3 separate regions of the Homo sapiens genome follow, and all the other regions are linked to region 2. The links are contacts of gene promoters, found by promoter capture Hi-C in blood cells and fetal thymus (Javierre and others, 2016). All regions are on one chromosome and are shown on one strand. Each heading gives the region's core, a stretch centred on a gene start or on the middle of the fragment in contact. The rest is flanking DNA. Distances are from core to core; before and after follow the strand shown.

Region 1 (2,952 bases), core at 22-2,521, 150 kb before region 2:
AAAAAAAAAAGAGAGAGAAGAGGCAGCTCCTCCGAGATGGGTCAGAGCTCTATGGGGAGCCCCAGGTGGGCATCTAGATGGTGAAGAGCCCAAAGACTCTAGAAGTGGGTTCTCGGGACTTGCGCATGCGTACATGTGTTTATATGTGTATACATGTGTTTATATGTTTGTGCATGGGTGTTGTGTCCATGTGTTTATATGTGTGTGCATGTGTTTGTATGAATCAATGTGTACTGTATGCATGTGTGTTTGTGTGTGCGTATGTAGGTTTGTATGTGTGGGAGATGTATTTGTGTATGTAGATGGGATGTGTGTGTCAATGTGTATATGTGTACATGTAGTGTACTTGTATTCATTGTCTATTACTTTTTTTAAAAATCCAGTTTTAGCAAAGAATATCTATGGCTTATTGCTACATGACAAATTACCCCAAAGCTTAGTCGCTTAAACTATAAACATCTATTTCACAGTTTCTGTGGACTGGGAATCTGAGAGAGGCTTAGCTGGGTATTTTTGGTTCAGGGTCTCTCTTGAAGTTGCAGTGAAGATGTTACTCAGGGTTGGCTGTAGTCTTCTGAAGGCTTGCGTGGGGCTAGAGGATCCACTTTCAAGATGACTCACCCTCCTGGCAAGACGATGCTGGCTGTTGGCAGGAGGTCTCAGTTCCCTACCACATCAGCCTCTCCATATGGCTGCTTGAGTGCCTCATGACACAGCAGCTGGCTTCCTCTGGAGTGAGTGACCTGAGAGAGAGAGAGAACCAGGCAAAAGCCACAGTGTTTTTAAAACCTAGCTTTGGAAGTCCCATGCCATCATTTCTGCCATATTATACTGGCCACAGAGACCAACCCTGATACACTGTGGGAGGGACTACACAAAGGCATGAATTCCAAGAGGTAAGGATCACTGGAGGTCATCTTGTAGGATGGCTATCACATGCAGTATGTGCGTGTGGGTATGTGGGGTGTGTGTTTGTGGGTGTGTACATAAAGATGTGTGTGTTTGTGTATATATGTGTATGTTTTTGCATATGTATATATGGATATATAGCAATATGTTTGTGTGACATGTATCTATGTATTGTCTGCATATGTGTATGCATGCATTTATGTATATGTATCTGTGTATTGCACATGTGTGTTTTTTGCGCACGAGTATGCATGCATGTATTATGCCTACATGCATGTCTCTGTGTTTGTATGTTGTGCATGTGTGCATATATGTGTATGCCTTTTTGTATGTATTTGTAGTATGTGAATGAGCATATGTATGCATGTGTGATGGGTTTGTATATGTATCCAGGTGTATATGTGTGTCTATGCCTGTGGCTGTATATGTTTGCAAACATTGTATGTGCATGTGCACCTGTGTTGTGTGTGTGCATGTATGCTTACATGTGTGTGTTTCTGTATAGATGTCCATGTGTAAGTCCGCATGTGTCTGTTTATGTGTGTGTAGGTGTATATATGTTACGTTTATGTATGTGTGTGAGGTGTATGTGTGTAGGTTTGAGAATATGTGTGTGCATTACTATGTACATATTGCACTTGTATATATAAATGTGTGCTGGCACATGCATACAAACTTAGGAATGTCACCTGCTGTGGGAGGAAAGCCTGGAGTCAGGAGTGGGGAGACTCAGGGAGGAGTCCCTATTATTCCTGGGGTAGCCCATGAGTGGAAGGCTCTGGAGCCTGGAGAGCAGGCTCTCCCTTGCATTTAGGATATGTGGATCCATGGTCCTCTGCATCTGGCTTTCCTTTGTCAAGGCTTTCTGTTGTTGTTCATTTTTGTTTGAACATTTCAGTCTTTCCTAAGCTGTCAAATAAAGCAGCAGAGAAAGGGTGGTCTCTATTGCCTGGAAGTTGAGAGTTCAGTGTAGACTAGTGCCCCTTTGGGGCTGGCCTGGGGAAAACAAGGGGATTTCCCTGGAGAGCACGGCTGACCCTCCCTCTCATCTCTTCTCGCCTAGGGCCACTCTGGGAGCTTCTGGAGTTTATTGGGCAAGAAGGGAGGGCATTTCTTTACTTCTAATAATCCAGTCATCTTAGGAGCCACTCTTTTCCTCTTTCCATTTAGAATATTTCTGACACCAACTTTTGTGTTTAGAAGCTTTTATGCTTTTTTTTAAAAAAAGTATTTTTACCTTTTGATTATGAAAGGTAATACATATGAACAGAAGTAGACAGAATGTAAAGATACAGCTCAACAGATTTTCAGAGTGAATAGCCATTTATACTATCCAATAAGAGGGTTCAGGACATGCCACCCAGAAACATGGCACACTGGCATGTTGAATATTTTAAGCTGGAAGGATCTGAGAAACAGCATGTGCAGGACAATCTCTCTGACTTCCCTGATCCTTCTCTCCTGAAGGGATCTCCCTGATCCTTTCCCCATGTGAAAGGTGTCCTTCCTCCAAAGATGGGGACACAGACAGGAATCTGAACACATGGGCCTTGTTAAGTCTTTTGGGTAAATAAAATTAGTTTTAAGATTGTTGGCAGGCTGGGCGCAGTGGCTCACACCCCTAATCCCAGTGCTTTGGGAGGCTGAGACAGGAGCATTACTTGCGCCCAGGAGTTTGAAACCAGCTTGGACAACATACTGAGACTTGGTCTTTACAAAAAGTTTAAAAAGTAGGCCGGGCTTAGGGGCTCACGCCTGTAATCCCCGCACTTTGGGAGGCCGAGGTGGGTGGATCACTTGAGGTCAGGAGTTCAAGATAAGCCTGGCCAACATGGTGAAACCCCGCCTCTACTAAAAATACAAAAAATTAGACTGGCGTGGTGGCAGGCGCCTGTAATCCCAGCTAGTTGGGAGGCTGAGGCAGGTGAATCCCTTGAGCTTAGAAGTTCAAGGCTGCAGTGAGCTGTGTTCACACCACTGCAATCCAGTCTGGGCAGCAGAGTGAGACCTTGTTTATATAGATTAAAAAAAAAAAAAGCCAGG
Region 2 (3,091 bases), core at 334-2,833:
GGCTCCATGCTGGGGTGACCCTGATGGGGCCTGACCTGGCCTTGCAGCCAGGGTGGGCAAAGTGGCTTCCAGCTGCTAAGGGAGCCATCCCTAGGCCCCTCCCCTGGGGCCAGGCAGAGGCTGCGGGGCCAGGCCTGACGCAGGGGGCGGGGTGGCCGTTGGGCAGCGGGTGGACCTCGGGCTCTAATCCCCAGCAGCTGCCGTTTCCCTCAGATCGATTCCTTTCTCACTTTTTTTCTCAGCTGCTGGTTCTGCGGCTTGGATCGATGGAGCCACCTCCCCCCGCCCGTCCACGCTTCCTCTCCCTGCTGCTCATTAGCGCCCCGATTAATCAGCCCCCCTTTCCTCCCGGGGACAAGGGCTTCCTCCCCCGTGAGGGCACATGCTGTCGGATGGGGCCCCAGAGCACAAGCACTGATTCTTGCCACCCCCACCCTGGGGGCATGGATGCATCCCCTCCTGGCCAGTCAACTGAGGCTCCCACCCCCACCTATGATGATGGCCCACATGCCTGTTCCCCTCCACGAGAACACAGCAGACCCCTTAGGGCTCTCCTGCCCCACTCTGCCAGGCACCCCTCAAACCCCTTTCTTTAGGAGAGCATTCGCTCCCATTGACGCCCAGCACATCTTCCTGCTCCCTTCCACGCCCCCACTGGGGCTCTTCCTCTCCCTCCATTGCATGCCCTGTCCCCCTACATATAGAGCACCCCGGAAGCACACCTCCCCTTTGCTCCCTGGCTTGCTTACCCAACAGCCCTCCCCCGAAGCCTGGTTGTGGCAAGGGATTTGGGGAACATTTGGGGAAGCAAAGTGGCCACAGATATGCAAGCTGGCCAGGGTGCTGTCTGTCCCAGACATATGAATGACTGAGATTGGGGTTGGGGGCAAAATGAGGGTGAGGGCAGCCAGCCTCCCAGAGGGGGCAGGGGCATGGTGGGTGTTGAAGTCTGGAGCAAAGCTCCAGGGAAGCTGAGAATCTTGAAGTCACAGTTGTCCCCTGGTCTGTCTAGCCTGCCCTCCTCTGCCCCCCTCCCTCCGTCATTCAAACAAGTGGCTCTCTCAAGGAGTTTCTGGAAGCTGCTGTGAGTCGGGTAGTGGGATCAGGTGGTGGCTGGGTGCTGGAGTCAGGAGTCTCAGAGGCCAGGAGGTGGGGGGATAGAGTTGGCTGACCCTTCATGGGGTGTGGGCCAGGAAAGTGGCAAAGAATGAGCTGAGGACCCTGGGCACGGCACCCTTCCCTGGGTGGCCAGGAAGTGGGGAGATCTGGGGACCCAGTGAGCGGCTAGGGTGCAGCAGGAGTTTGGGGGATAGCCCCAGTCTTGGGATCTCTGTCCTGGGCTGGGGACTGCCCCCTCCCCTGGCCTGGCTCCTGACGCCCGTGCTGCCGGTGAAACGCTGTTGACATGTCCTGAATTATTAAGCGTGGGGAGGGCTCCGGAGCACATGCTGAGCGGAGCGGCTGGGGCTGCGCGGCGTGGCGGAGCAGCGCTCGCTCCCTCGCTCACTCGCTCGCTCGCAGGGACACACGCAGGGGCTGACAGCTGTGCTGGTGCTGATAAGGGAAGCCACAAGGAGACGATCGAGGAGAGAGACAAGCGGCAGCAGAGGCAGCAGCGGCAGAGGCAGCACCAGGGCTGCGGAGCTGCTGGGAGTGGGAGTGACTCCCCCACCTCGGGCCCCCACCCTGTCCCTGTCCTCTTCCCGCTTGCCCTGAGTTTAGAAGAGCAGCCGCTGCCACCACTGCCACTCGGGAGGGCACCAGGGCTGCTGGCTAGGGAGGGACAGGGCAGGGAGGCTCTGGCCAGTCCCAGCAGCCGGGGACAGATGCCGATCGAGATTGTGTGCAAAATCAAATTTGCTGAGGAGGATGCGAAACCCAAGGAGAAGGAGGCAGGGGATGAGCAGAGCCTCCTCGGGGCTGTTGCCCCTGGAGCAGCCCCCCGAGACCTGGCCACCTTTGCCAGCACCAGCACCCTGCATGGACTGGGCCGGGCCTGTGGCCCAGGCCCCCACGGACTGCGCAGAACCCTGTGGGCACTGGCCCTACTCACCTCGCTGGCTGCCTTCCTGTACCAGGCGGCTGGCCTGGCCCGGGGCTACCTGACCCGGCCTCACCTGGTGGCAATGGACCCCGCTGCCCCAGCCCCAGTGGCGGGCTTCCCGGCTGTCACCCTCTGCAATATCAACCGCTTCCGGCATTCGGCACTCAGCGATGCCGACATCTTCCACCTGGCCAATCTGACAGGGCTGCCCCCCAAAGACCGGGATGGGCACCGTGCGGCTGGCCTGCGCTACCCAGAGCCTGACATGGTAGACATCCTCAACCGCACTGGCCACCAGCTCGCCGACATGCTTAAGAGCTGCAACTTCAGTGGGCATCACTGCTCCGCCAGCAACTTCTCTGTGGTGAGTTCTGCCAGCTGGGCTGCCTGGCCTTGGATGGCCGGAGGCTGGGGAGTGGGGAGGAGTGGTGGCAGTGGTGTACAGGGGCATCCTCAACAGGGCTTCCCTTCATTCCACCACCAGAGGCTGGCCTCGTGTTTCCCCAAGCCTGGCGTCTCCCTCTGGCTTCCCAGCCATGGAGCAGTGGCCGCTCATAGGGGCTTACCCTGGGGCGCCTGCTGCTCCTCTTCTTGGTTTTGCTGCTGCTGCAGTGCCCAGGTCTGGGAGTTGGGGTGGGGGTTCCTAGGCATGGGCCCAGGTGTCCTGGAGCTGGCTGGCTTGCAGGGAACGCACGCACCATCCCAAGGCCAGACCAACTGACTCTCACTTTTCTCTTGCTCCCTTTTTCTTCTGAGGCTACTGGATTCTTCCCACCAAACGAAGGAGATAGGGAGGGGAGGTTTGGGGGGCTCCATCTAGGGAAGGACCCCGGGTGGCCTCCTGGGGAGCTGGCCTGGTGGGCAGGCTGGAGAGACCCGGTCTTCAGGACACTGGGTGCCAGTGTCTCTTCTGGATCTCTGTGTGTCTCTCACATGCCTGCCTCACAGACTCCCTCACACATCCCTCTTTCATTCTGCCCTCCAGCCCTCCTGGGGTCCAGTCCCCCTCTGTCTCCTGTTCTAGCGGCTCCCATGCCCAGCTCTGGC
Region 3 (2,975 bases), core at 430-2,929, 140 kb after region 2:
GAAGTTCTAGCTAGTGCAACACGCAAGAAAAAGAAACAAAAGACATACAGGTCAGAAAAAAAATTGTCCCTGTTTGCAGATAACATAACTGTCTACATAGAAAATCCTAAGACATCTATAAAAATGAAAACAAAACAAAAAAACTTTTGGAACAAGTGATTTAGTTCAACAAGAATCATAGGATACAAGATAAATATACAAAAATCCATTGCATTTCTATATATTAGCAGTAAACACATGTATACCAAAATTAACAGTACAATACCATATGCAGCCCACTCAAAAGTGAAATACTTTTTTATAAATCTAATAAAAATTTACAGAATCTACATGCTGAAAACTTCTGTATTAGTCTATTTTGTGTTGCTATAAAGAAATACCTGAAACTGGATAATTTATAAAGAAAAGAGGTTTGTTTGGCTCATGATGCTGCAGGCTGTGCAACAAGCATGTGCCAGCATCTGCTTCTGGTGAAGCCCTCAGGAACCTTACAATCATAGTGGAAGGGAAGGGAGGAGCAGGCGTGTCATAAGGTGATAGAGAAAGCAAGGGGGTGGGGAGGTGCCACACTGTTTAAAAACCAGATCTTGTGGTAACTAATAAAGTGAGAACTCACTCATTACCATGAGGATGGCACCAACCCATTCTTGAGGTATCCACCCCCAGGACCCAAACACCTCCCACTAATCCCCACCTCTAACGTTGAGGTGACATGAGATTTGAAGAGGACAAATATCCAAACTATATTAACTACTCAAGGTTGATGAAAGAAATCAATGAAGATCTAAATAAATGGAGAGACATACTACGTTCCTGGATTGGAAGATTCAGCATTGTAAAGTTGTCAATTTGTCCTAAACTAATATATATAGGTTTAATGCAATTTTTATTGAAATCTAAGCAAAGCTTTTTTGTAGATATAGACAAAATTATTTTAGAATTTATATGGAAAGGCATAGAAACCAGAATAGCTAAAATAATTTTGTAAAAGGAGAATAAAGTGGGATGAATCAGTTTACCTGATTTTAAGACTTATTATATAGTTACAGTAATCAAGACTGTGTGGTATTGGTGGAGGGATAGTTGCAAAGACTGATAGAACAGAATTTAAAAACCTAGAAATAGACCAACATAAATATACCCAACCAATTTTTGACAAAAGGTGCAAAAGTAATTCATTGAAGAAAAAATACCCTTTTCAACAAATGGTGATGGAGCAAAAGGACATCCATTGGCAAACACAAACAAACAAAACTCTGATATAAATCTCATACCTTATGCAATAATTAACTCAAAATAGATCATAGAATTAAATGTAAAACTTGAAACTATAAACATTTTTAGAAGAAAACAGGAGAACATCTTTGGGTTTAGGGTTAGGCAAAGAGTTCTTTGACTTGACAACAAAAGCATAAAAGGAAAGAAAAAATTGATTAAATAGACTTCACTAAAATTTTAAAATTTTATGCTGCAAAAGACCTTGTTAAGAGGATGAAAAAACAAAGTACAGAGTGGGAGAAAATATTTGCAAACCACATATCTAATAAAGGACTAGTGTCTTGACTATATAAAGAATTCCTCAGGGCCAGGCATGGTGGCTCATGCCTGTAATCCCAGCACTTTGGGAGGCTGAGGCGGGTGGATCACGTGGTCAGGAGATCGAGATCATCCTGACTCACACAGTGAAACCCCATCTCTACTAAAAATACAAAAATTAGCCAGGTGTGGTGGCATGTGCCTGTAATCCTAGCTACTCGGGAGGCTGAGGCAGGAGAATCGTTTGAATCCGGGAGGCAGAGGTTGCAGTGAGCCAAGATCATGCCACTGCACTCCAGCCTGGGTAACAGAGCAAGAGTCTGTCTCAAAAAAAAAAAAAAAAAAAAAAAAAAAAAAAAAAAAAAAAAAAAATTCCTCAATCTCAACATCAAAAAACCAAACCATCCACTTAAAAAATGGGCAAAAGACATGAAGAAAAATTTTACTGAAGAGAATATGCAGATGGCAAATAAGCACATGAGAAGGTGTTCAATCTTATTAGCTATTAGGGAAATGCAAATTAAAACCATAATGAGGTATCACCATACACCTATCAGGATGTGAGAGAGAGAAAGAGAGAGAGACAGAGAGAGACAGAGAAACATGAAAAATAGTGATATCATCAAATGCTGGCCAGGATGTGGAGAAACTGGATTACTCATACATTACCAGTGGAAAGGTAAAATGGGACAACCACTCTGGAAAACAGTTTGGCAGTTTCTTAAAAACCTAAACATACAACTACCATATGACTCAGCAATTGCACTCTTGGGCATTTATCACAAAGAAAGGAAGACTTATATTCACACAATAAACTAAACAAATGTTTATAGCAGTTTTATTTGCAATAGCCAAAAACTGAGACAATGCAGATGTCCTTTAATGGGTGAATGGTGAATGGTGCAGTGATAAAGAATAAGCTTTTGACGCACACAACACAGTAAACTGTGTATCTCCAGAGAATAGCACTGAGTTGAAAAAGCCATTCTCAAAAGGCTACACAATGTATGATTCCATTTATACAATATTCTTACAGTGACAGTGTTGCAGAAATAGAGAACGGGTTAGTGGTTTCCAGAGGTTAGGGAGGGGACAGCTACAAAAAGGCAACTTGGGGGACCATTATTGTGATTGAAATGTTCTCTAATTTTGCCCCGTCCATGTCAATATTTTGGTTGTGACACTAATCTTAAAATAAAATGTATAATTAAAAAATAAATACATTATATTCAAACACAGGTAAATACATTATATTAAAAATAAAGGTACTAAACACTCAAAATTCATGACTTCCCAATTATTTTGTTACTTTTACTATTGTCTATATTCTGGAAGTTATTTATGTCTGTTATATCTGTATGGTGGAAATATTCTATAGTGATGTGCTATGGCACATTTCTTCCCAATTCTGCATTCAGTGATGTCACACTAATAGTTTG

The links. Contacts are between HindIII fragments. The CHiCAGO score rates a contact against its expected background, and 5 or more counts as called.
Region 1: a fragment that was not itself captured here is called in contact with the fragment with the promoter of ASIC4 in region 2 in 1 of 17 cell types (neutrophils); the score reaches 6.1 in neutrophils.
Region 3: a contact is called between a fragment that was not itself captured here and the fragment with the promoter of ASIC4 in region 2, in 1 of 17 cell types (M0 macrophages). The highest score is 5.1, in M0 macrophages.

The regions. Positions count from the first base shown.
Region 1 is chr2:219,362,066-219,365,017 of GRCh38, forward strand. It overlaps LOC105373883 (a long non-coding RNA gene), which reads right to left. Exons shown (of 2, transcript XR_923917.3): 2 at 437-743. Among named protein-coding and RNA genes, the nearest start is that of DNPEP, 24 kb to the right of the region's middle. RefSeq lists an enhancer at 498-547. The HindIII fragment of the contact is 1,677 bases long and covers 434-2,110 here.
Region 2 is chr2:219,512,899-219,515,989 of GRCh38, forward strand. It overlaps ASIC4 (acid sensing ion channel subunit family member 4), which reads left to right and starts at 1,584. Exons shown (of 10, transcript NM_018674.6): 1 at 1,584-2,408. The coding sequence starts at 1,827. All of the region lies in intron 1 of ASIC4-AS1 (ASIC4 antisense RNA 1), which reads right to left. RefSeq lists an enhancer at 1-222 and a silencer at 1,507-1,682. The HindIII fragment of the contact is 12,103 bases long and covers 1-3,091 here.
Region 3 is chr2:219,654,449-219,657,423 of GRCh38, forward strand. No RefSeq gene overlaps it. Among named protein-coding and RNA genes, the nearest start is that of SLC4A3, 28 kb to the left of the region's middle. The HindIII fragment of the contact is 1,550 bases long and covers 905-2,454 here.